Regions from separate parts of the Homo sapiens genome. Here region 2 is linked to region 1. Evidence: promoter capture Hi-C in human tissues and cell types (Jung and others, 2019). All regions are on one chromosome and are shown on one strand. Each heading gives the region's core, a stretch centred on a gene start or on the middle of the fragment in contact. The rest is flanking DNA. Distances are from core to core; before and after follow the strand shown.

Region 1 (4,996 bases), core at 830-3,329:
GGCGGGGGGCACCTTCTGTCATCTTGGGTAAGTTTTCCACCTGCACACTGTGCCTGTATGTGTGCAAACGTGTGCAGGCTTAACCACAGAATCAGCAGAGAGCACCAGTCCCCAAAACACAGCTGGCAGAGACACACACAGCCCTTCCACCCGCCGGCTTGTCACAGAGTGTTTCTCCCTCCCCCAAGCGTTACATGTCAGATTACTATCAGCGCTCAGAGTGAGGCCAGGATCTCAGGAGAGAAACTGATACCAGGCATTCTCAGCATAGTAAATACAATCCTGGGTAGGGGTTGGGTGGGGGGGGCGGTCTTGCGTTGGTATTCTGTAAAGAGCTGAAAGCAGTCCTTTGAAGAACATGGCCTATTCATGGCCCAATCTGGACCCAGAAAGGAGCCTCCACTGGACATGCAGGATGGCTGCCCGGGGTTCGACATCTGCAGGGCAGCCTCTCTGAGACCAGGCCCAGGACTGCAGGTCAGAGGCTCCTCATCCGGCCTATCTGCTGTGTCACCTTTCTTAAACACAGCCTGGCAAGACAGACACACGCGGTGCCTGCCTCCTGGCACCCCAGGCCAGCCCCACACGCGTGCAGGCAGACAATAGGATCTGCAGTTCTGGAGCCTGAGACCAGAAGGGAGCAGCTGGGCACATGATGCCACCCCAGGTTGCCACAAACCTGCCCGATGCCTGCAAAGCCCCCACTCACCTGGCAGGTTCAAGGAACAGCAAGGCCCTGTGTACCAAGGAGGTGGGATAAAAACGTGCAGAGGGGCCTTACTCCTGGGGTTGGGGAGCAGAGTTTCTGTTCAGTCTGGGATCTGGATCAGCCCTGGTGCAGGCAGACCCAAGAGCATCTATCTAGGATCCCAAAGGCTGGCCCACTTCTCCAGGCTTTGGGAGGCTGTATCAGGTGGGGTGGGACCCTTACAGAAGTCTTCCTGTAAAAGGCACCTTGAAGAGACTGGGGCAGACACACAGAGGGGAGCAAGTTGCGAAACGGCAAGAGAGGAAATCCACCCAGCCGCTTCGGCGGGGCAGACCCGCTCAGCCCAAGGATGAGGGAGGGGCTGGGCTCAGCCCAGGGACGAGGGAGGGGCAGGTAAGCCCACCCTGTGACCCCTCCATACCCCCAGGAGTCACCCCAAACCCTAACTCCAGTTGGCTTCTGACAGGAGGCAGCCCAGCGGTCTGGGTGGGGGTTGGGGGCGGTGCCTGGGAAGCCCAGGACGGGCCTGTTGCCCGGGGGGCTGCAGACTCCAGCCTCCTTCCTGCCTGCCCCACCCTCCTGCACCCCGCTCCCCGGGAGGAATCTTCAAGTGCACAAGACCCTCTTGAGGACTCAGGCACCTCAACAATCCCTAAGGCTCCACATCTTCAGGGGGTCAGTGCCCCAGAGATGGGGGCTGTGGGCAAGGTCCTTCCCTAGCCTGTAATCCAGGCAGCCCCCTGACTCTGCGGACTCAGACACAGCAGTCCTCCCAAGCCCGCAGCTGGGACGCCAGACTCAGATCCCAGACCCCCTGCAGACCCATCAAGACCTGGCTCCTTGGAGCCCGCGTCGGCCGAGCTGGGGGGACAGACCCCCTGATTGGCCAGGGTTTGTGGTGGTCAGACCCAGCCACCTTCCCTGGCGGTCCCGGCTCCTTTAAGCCCCACCAAGTGGGGAGCCGAGCTGGGCGCGCCGCTTCCCACTCGCGGGCCCCACCCGCCCCAACCCGCCAGGCGCCGACCCGTCCTGGCCCGGGGCGCCCCCAGGCTCCCGCGCTCCCCAGCTCCCCAGCGCGCGACCGGCCCCGCGGCGTGGTTCCCCGCACTGGCTACTGCCAGGGTCCGCGGGGCTGCGGCGCGAGCTCCTGGATCCCTTCGGCCGGCCCCCCGCGGCCCTCGGTTCGCTCCGGCCCTGCCCGGCGGGGCCCTCCGGATCCTTCCCAGCCCGCCATCCCCCCGCCGCCCTGCCGCCCCCCGGGCCGCCGCGCTCCTACCTCCTACCGTGCCGCGAGCTCGGTGCTCCGGGCCGGCCGGGCGCGCGGGGGCTCCACTGGCGGCGCGGGCCTGGCTGCAGGAAATGCCAGCAGATGGTCCCCCCGCGCGAGGCGGAGCGAGGGCGCGGCGGAGGGAGGAGGCCCAGGGAGCCCGGAGGCGGGAGGAGGAGGCGCGGCGGCCGCAAAACCCGGGCCGAATCGCCGCGCGGAGCGGGCGCCCAGGGGCTGCCCCCCACCGGCTGCCGCTTCTCCTCATCCCCCAACCCCCCGCGCGCGCTCCGGGGCTCACACCCACCCGGGCGGCCAGAGGTCGGGACACTCCGCTGAAAATGGCCAGGAGGCTTGGCGGGGTGGGCAGCGGTGAGTGGGGTCAGCTTCGTGGGGTTCTCCAACTTAGGGGTGCAGGCCCCCAGCCCACCCTAGCCAGGGTGCGAGGCGCCTCCTCTCCCTTCCTGAACCCAGGAAACTGTCGCCGTTTCTCCCCGTCTCAGGAGCCATCAGAACACAAGAGGAGCCCCAGACATCTGAGCCCGTTGTCCCTGCCCCTTATGTGCTAAGAAGGACCCTCAGTCACACTCTAACTGTACGTCTTTCTCAGGACCCTTTTGACAAGAACCTCCCCTCATGTGCATTTCTTCCTGTGTTTTCTCCTCACCTTCTTCTACCCCCCAGAGACCTTTTTAGACCCCTCAGTTCTCTTGTATATAAAAGACATTCTAATTCCCCTAAACAGCATCCCCTTGGGAGCTGAGAAGTCCTCCCCTGGCCCCTGGCTCCCTGCCTGTAGACCCTAAATTGGGTGTGGGCCCAGGGCTGGCCCCAGGGCGTTTGCATCCCTAGTGTCCAAGCCTGAGGTGCACTGCAGGTCCTTCCTATGGTATGTCCCCAAATGACCAGAAAAACTGGGAGCTGGGCTCGGGCATCCCCAGATGTAGGTAGACCCCAAGAGGGCGTGGAGTCTTTTCCACACAGAACCTTAACAGGGACAGAACTGACCCTCCGCAGAGAGCCCTGGGCTCCTCCCCAGGCAGAACTGCCACTGACACGTGTGTTTCTACGGTTTCACGCTGCAGTTGCATTCGGGAGGCCGCAAGCCTGGCTATCATGGGCGTCTGCAAGACCTCCCAGCAGGGCTGCGGAGGGCGAGCGGCCCAGGAAGGCTCCTTCCAGCACCTGAAGGGGGAACGGCACAGCATGCAGGTGCTCTGCCCACAACAAGCCAGACCCCTTCCCGTCTCAGCCCTGGCCTTGCCCACCCCGTTAGACAAGTTGGTGGGTATCCTCCTGGGGATAGCAGCACCAGCCGCTTGTGTGCGGATCACAGGAACCCACGGCTTACGGAGGCGAGTGGGCTGATCGGACTTGCCCTAAGCTTACCCCCAGGGCTAGCATTGCCATTCCATAGTCACCTTGTGAGGCCTTGGGATGCAGAACTGCTCAGTCAAGATGCTCAGGGCCATGGTGGGACCCTGCTCCGCGTGGCCTGTGGCAGGCGGCCTCTGCCTCTGCAGGAGAGGGTCTGTGCAGCTGGGATCCACATACAACTGCTGGGTCTGCTCTTTGAAGACTCCGCCCAAAGCTGAGGTGCTGCTGCCTGGTAACTTGCTGGTTGCTGGAGCCAATCCAAAGGGAATTAGGGAAGAAAACAAAGCCCCTATCCCTAGGGCGGAGGTCTCAGGGGCGGCAGTAGGGAAGGTTGCCAGTTGCTTGATGCTGGCTGTCCAGGGCCTGGGTTTCATGAAATGACACTGCTGAGGGCAGAGGTCAAAAGTCAAAGAGGCACCTGAGGGTGGGGGAAGGGGCCATAGATGACAGCAGGGTGGGGCTGGGGTGGAGCAGGACGAGGGTTGAGCCTCTCACTGGGTAGTGTCTGACAGCCAGATGGCCATGCAAGAAATGAAGAACACGCCACCTGCCAGGCTCAGTGACAGGTGTCAGTTGTCTGCCCCACTTCCCAGCAGGCTCTGCATTTTTCCAGAAAGCCCCATTTCCAGCCTCTTGCCTGGTTTTGGAGAGGCAGTGAGCCGAAGAGGTTGCCCCCAGCAAGAGGTAGGTCCGAATCCTGCTGCTGCCAGAAAGAAGCTCTGTCACCAGGCAGTGGCTTGTTCCTCCTGGGACCCCGCTTCCTCTCCTGTCAGATGGACACAGCATCTGTGCCTGGTGGCCAACGCAGGAAATGAAGGCGTCAGAGGTCTCAGAGATGGGCAGAGCCAGGTGCCAATGGCACCAGCTTTAGGGGGGCACGCCCAGTAGGCCCCACCATCCAGGAGCCCTTGAGCAGGTTTGTGCAACTGGCCGTGCCTCAGTTTCCTCATCTATAAATGGCGATGACCAGAGCAGTTTCCGCTGCATGAGCTGCCATAAGTCCCCAGTGGGCCAACAGACTTTGCAAGCGCTGGCTGTTGGTGGGCACTGGGGACCATGAGTGGACTATGGGAAGGAACGGCTTGCAGCGCCCAGCTGGTTAGTTTGGAATTTATGGTAATTCAGAAAAATATGTCTGTGATAAGTAAGAACTTAAAAAATGCTTTGCAAGGACAGTGCAATTTAAAATCAGGGCAGTTCCAATCCAAGTCTCCAGAATGGCAGTTCTCTGCTAGGGGCGGTTTTGCCTCCAGTTTCCAGGTGGCATTTGCCACTGCCTGGAGATAGTTCTGGCCGTCGTCATTGGAGGTTGCTACTGGTGTCTAGTGGGTAGAGGCCGAGGATGTTGCTAAACACGTTGTCATGCACGGGACAGCCTCCACCACAAAGGGTGACCCGGCCCCAAATGCTGGTCATGCTGAGGTCAAGAATCCCTGCCCCAGAAGTGAATACATGTCCACCTGCTGGCATCACTCCTTGGTTTCGGGTGGTTGGTCTAAGCCCCCAAGGCCTCCTGCTGATGGAGCCCCTACCCTGTCCCAGGTTCTTTGCATCTCATCTACTTCTCCTGACCCCGACTGAGGGGTGAATAAGATGGCTGTGGGCACCTTTCTCGTGTCAGACCCTTTTCTGAGGGCTTTAGACAC
Region 2 (4,996 bases), core at 1,205-3,704, 630 kb after region 1:
CTTAAAAATTCTACTTGCTCTTAGTTATCTAGGACCTAGTAGACATAAAGTCAGGTACTGGCTGGGCACAGTGGCTCATACCTGTAATCCCAGCACTTTGGGAGGCCGAGGTGGGGGATGGCTTGAGCCCAGGAATTCGATACCAGCCTGGGCAACATAGCGAAACCCTGTCTCTACCCAAAATATACAAAAAAATATTAGCTGGGTATGGTGGTGCACACCTGTGGTCTCAGCTACTTGGGAGGCTGAGGTGGGAAGATTGCTTGAGCCCAGGAGGTAGAGGCTACTGTGAACCGAGATTGCGCCACTGCACTCTAGCCTGGGTGATGGAGTGAGACCCTATCTCATAAATAAATAAACAAATAAATGTCAGGGACCAAAGTATCACATAACATATAAACAGCAGGAACTATCTTATCTGGGCCCCATATTTCAGGAGCCTCTCTATTGACTACTGTTAGGTATAACTCCTCCATATTTGTCTATTCATTCAAGTAAACACACTTACTGAGGGCCTACTATGTGGCAAGCAACTGGACAACAAAGATAAGATGAAAATATTTTACCAGCCTAATTAAAAAAACAGCTAAAATAAAAATGATATGTGCTATAAATAGAAATATCAAATAAGTGTTATGGAAGCTTGCAGAGAAGAGAATGCCAAGAAAAGCTTCCCAGAAGAGGGTGATGCCTGAACTGAGAAAATGTCACGGAAAACATACCCTGTTCACGCTTTACTATTTAGACTACGGTTCTCTTCTGCACTACTAGTTCTGAGTTTATGCTTTGTCATCTATACAAGAACAAAGTAACAATCTTACTGATGTGTACAGAACCAAGTGTCAACTAATTCAATTTCATCAAATCTGAAGAGTCAAAAAGAATAATTTTACCCAAGTATTTCCCAGTACCTTTATCCTGTCCAACCTCTAGTTTTGGTTTTTAAATACCCTAACTTCCTCCACCAGGTAAACATACTGTAACCCAGTTAACTCGAGTTTCTTTTCGAATTTGTAAGACCGTCACAGGGAATGATCACTGCTCTCTTTTTGCTCTTTATTCCAGTTAGCTTCTTCCTCCAAAACGGAGTTTTATTTCCTCACCTTATTCTACTATAATACTTCACTTTGAATTCTGTACCTGAAAGGAGCCATGAGTTCCGAGGTACAACTACTACAAACGGACTCCTACCTGGCTTTCTAAGTCTTATCAATATTTCCTGCTTTCTATTCCAGTACTGTTATAAATCCCTAACTGACTCCGAGTCCTCATCAGCTGACACAAGTCAAAAAATTCAGATTTAGAAAGGGAAACAATGGCTTGTAGTTTTACCGATTTGTTTCCGATACATAACAACGCTGACGTTCTTTAACCATCTTCTAAGTTTAGTTCTCAAGCTCTAGGTTAGGGTACCACTAACGAAGCTTCCACCTTACCCGTGAACAGAGCTGGTAGCAACTAAACGGAAAACGCTGTGAAGACTACATCTACGTTTAGCTACCTAATGTCCATGCCGCACCGACCTCCTAAAGGGAATTCTTAATAATGGGAGACTGAAATATCCAGGGAGGGTGAGGTAGTAGAAAACTGTTTAGACTGTCAAAAATCTGGCATTGGCTAATCCTGCCTGTTACTCCGGGCCTCGGTTTCCCCATCTACAAAACTGATGTAAGGTAGGGGGATTGACTTAAACAATTTCTAAAGTCCTTATGGCTATAGTAATCCAGAAACTCAATCTGTCTCCTCATCTGGCTTTACACTGAACACGTGGGAAAATAGAAAAGAACCTTTTGCTCCACCGAACCGACTCCTATTCTCAGATATTATCTTAAAAATCTCCCAAACTTCGGACTCACCCTAATCCTCGGGGTGCCCACTTCCCTTATGGAGAAGCCAAGGCAAATAAAGCCCAGTCCCACATGACGGTCAAGGAAGTGCGGGGCAGACCGTATTCAGGGTTTCAAGGCGCTGACCCCGGAAAGGCCAGCCCACCGTGGGGTCCTTACACCACTGAATGAATGAGTACAACCAGACAGACACCCACTCGCGTGGGCAGCAACTGGAGACCTCCAGGCCTAGACCCCACTGATGTCCATTCTCTCCCAGGGCCTCCAAAGCCGGGCCTCCCGGGCTCCGGGCCCCCGGGTCCTCAGCACCGCCCCTCTCTCAGGCCAGAAGGTGCGCGCAGCGGCGCTAGACTTCGAAGCGGAGAGGCCCTGAGACGCCCCGCGCGTCCGCCCGCCCGGAAGGGGGGAGAAACCTGCCGGTCTCGGCCGCTGCAGCTCGGGCTCCCGACTTACCGCGGTTCGGTGGGGAAGGGGAAGTGTCAGGAGTCCCCTGCTGCCACCCGCCGCTCACAGAGCAGCGCGCGGCCCCCACGAAACCGTCGCCGCCGCCGCTACCACCCCTGCCACCGACCGCCGCTTCGGGCGCAGCGCGCAGAGGGCCCGACTGCGTCACACGCCGCCCGGCGTCAGAGGCTCGTTGCGGACGCTCCGCCCTCGCCGTCCGCGAATTGGTGGACGCGGCCGCCACTCTGGGTCGACCCTGTTATTCATTGGGCAACGCGTCTTTTGAAACCGAACTGAAGGGGGAAGGGGCGAGAGGGAAGAGGAGGGGCAGAAGGAGTTCGGGGAGGCACAGGGTAGGAGCGGTGAGAGGGCCGTGGAGTCCCGCCCCTCGCCGCCGCGGTTGGCGGGAGCGTGTCGTGACGTCACACAGGGCCTCTCGAAGTGGGCTTGTGAATGGCTAGATTGGGAAGCACCGGCGGGGTGTCGGGAAGGGTGGTGACGCAACATAGAGACTCCGCCCCCTTCCTTGGAGCGCCGCGACTCGGGCTGAGGGAGCTCGGGCCAATCAGAGGGACGGCCCCAGAATGGCATGGTAACTATTCGACCCTTTCCTTGCCCCGGTCCGCCGGCGCTGCTGGGAAGGCTTCCTAGTCTCTCTGCCCGCACTTCCCGCCCAGACCACGTGCGGAGCCTGAGGGCCCTCTTGGAAGGTCTGTCTGTCCAAAGAGTTTGCCCGAGGCTTCTTCAGGGCCCTAAATCCTGACCCTATTCTCTCCTGACCCATGCTCGCCCCAGCACTTTCTTTCCCTCCCTGAATTTCTAGGATGGACATTAGGAGCATTAGAGATGCCCTAAGGGACTGGCCCACCAAAGGGCCTGGTACAAATGAGGATTGTTGGAACGTCTTTCCCAGCTGCACGTGGAGAACCCCTAATTCTTTTTTTTTCTTTTTCTTTTGAGATGAAGTCTCGCGTTGTCGCCTAGGGTGGAGTGCATTGGCGCAATCTCGGCTCACTGCAACCTCTGCCTCCCGGGTTCAAGCGATTCTCCCGCCTTAGCCTCCCAAGTAGCTGGGATTACAGGCGTCCGCCACCAGGCCCAGCTAATTTTTGTATTTATAGTAGAGACGGGGATTTCACTGTGTTGGTCAGGCTGGTCTCGAACTCCTGATCTCAAGTGATCCACCCGCCTCGGCCTCCCAAAGTGCTGGGATTACAGACGTGAGCCACCTCGCCCATGAACTAATTTTTTTTTTTTTTTTTGAGATGGAGTCTTGCTCTGTCTCCTCTTTCTCCCAGGCTGGAGTGCAGTGGCACGATCTCGGCTCACTGCAATCTCCGCCTCCCAGGTACAAGAGAGTCTCCTGTCGTAGCCTCCCGAGTAGCTGGGATTACAGGCACTCGCCGCCGCGCCCAGCTGATTTTGTATTTTTAGTAGAGATGGGGTTTCACCATGTTGGCCAGGCTGGTCTCGAACTCCGGAACTCAGGTGATCCGCCCGCCTCGGCCTCCCACAGTGCTGGCCTTACAGGCGTGAGCCACCGCGCCCAGCCGAACCCCTACTTATTCTTAAAGGACGGGTATTTCAAATGTTCCCATCTTCTCAGTGATACATTTGCCAAGCTTTCACAGCGAGTTGAGCTAATGCTTGGGCAGGCCTCTGTTAAAGCCTTGTCACTTTGTATCCTATTATTTACCCTCGGTTTTCTGTGCCTTGGGCTCTTCTTGGAAGTCCTTCTGGGGCCTAGCCCATTAGCAGAAAACTGATATTACAAGAGTGAAAGGTGGGCATTTTCTAGAAACTAGACCTGTTTAGTGACTGAGAGTCTCATAGCAGGAACTGTGCGCAGAAAGCAAAGCGTATACTGGCCGGGCTGGTGGCTCATGCCTGTAATCCCAGCACTTTGGGATGCTGAGGCGGGCAGATTATTTGAGGCCAGGAGTTCGAGACCAGCCTGGCCAACATGATGAAACCCTGTCTCTACTAAGAATACAAAAATTGGTCAAGCATGGTGGTGGGCACCTATAATCCCAGCTGCTTCTCGGTTTGCTGAGGCACGAGAATGGCTTGAACCAGGGAGGCGGAGATTACAGTGAGTGGAGATCCTGCCACTGCGCTCCAGAGTGATCTCAAAAAAAATTTTTAAAAAACCTCCACCACTACTCCTTTGTGAGACATGAATGCAAAATTGAACTGGGCTTTTACCTAAAATGTAAATGAGTTTAAAGCCATCTGGGTTTTCGGTGATGGCAAGGGATTAGAGATAATTGATTTATTTGTTTGTTTAAAAAATGGGAGACTGGGAGTGGTGGCTCACGCCTGTAATCCCAGCACTGGGGAGTTCAAGGTAGGAGGATCACTTGAACCCAGGAGTTCGAGACCAGCTCGGGCAACATAGTGAGTCCCCACCTATACAAAAAATTAACCAAGGCCAGGTGTGGTGGCAAGCGCCTGTGGTCCCAGCTACTAGGGAGGCTGAAGTAGGAGGATCGTTTGAGCCCAAGAGGTTAAAGCTACAGTGAGCTGTGATTACAGTCATGCCACTCCCGCCTGGGCAACAGACGGAGCCTCCGACTGGGGGAAAAAAAAGGTGGTGGGTTGTAAAGATGGAATAAGATAGTGGATGGAAGAAACACGGTACATTGTAGGTGCTCAGTAGATACTTGAAGGAAGAAGAAAATCAATATATGGTTGGCCAAATAGTA

The links. Contacts are between HindIII fragments. The study calls those that stand out against the background at their distance.
Region 2: the fragment with the promoter of NUP98 here is called in contact with the fragment with the promoter of OSBPL5 in region 1 in 1 of the 25 tissues and cell types used here (mesendoderm cells).

The regions. Positions count from the first base shown.
Region 1 is chr11:3,163,231-3,168,226 of GRCh38, forward strand. It overlaps OSBPL5 (oxysterol binding protein like 5), which reads right to left and starts at 2,080. Exons shown (of 22, transcript NM_020896.4): 1 at 1,986-2,080. RefSeq lists enhancers at 125-818, 2,562-3,274. The HindIII fragment of the contact is 28,319 bases long and covers 1-4,996 here.
Region 2 is chr11:3,795,100-3,800,095 of GRCh38, forward strand. It overlaps NUP98 (nucleoporin 98 and 96 precursor), which reads right to left and starts at 2,455. Exons shown (of 33, transcript NM_016320.5): 1 at 2,301-2,455. It also overlaps a transcript of PGAP2 not described here. RefSeq lists silencers at 2,132-2,221, 2,302-2,471. The HindIII fragment of the contact is 8,862 bases long and covers 1,048-4,996 here.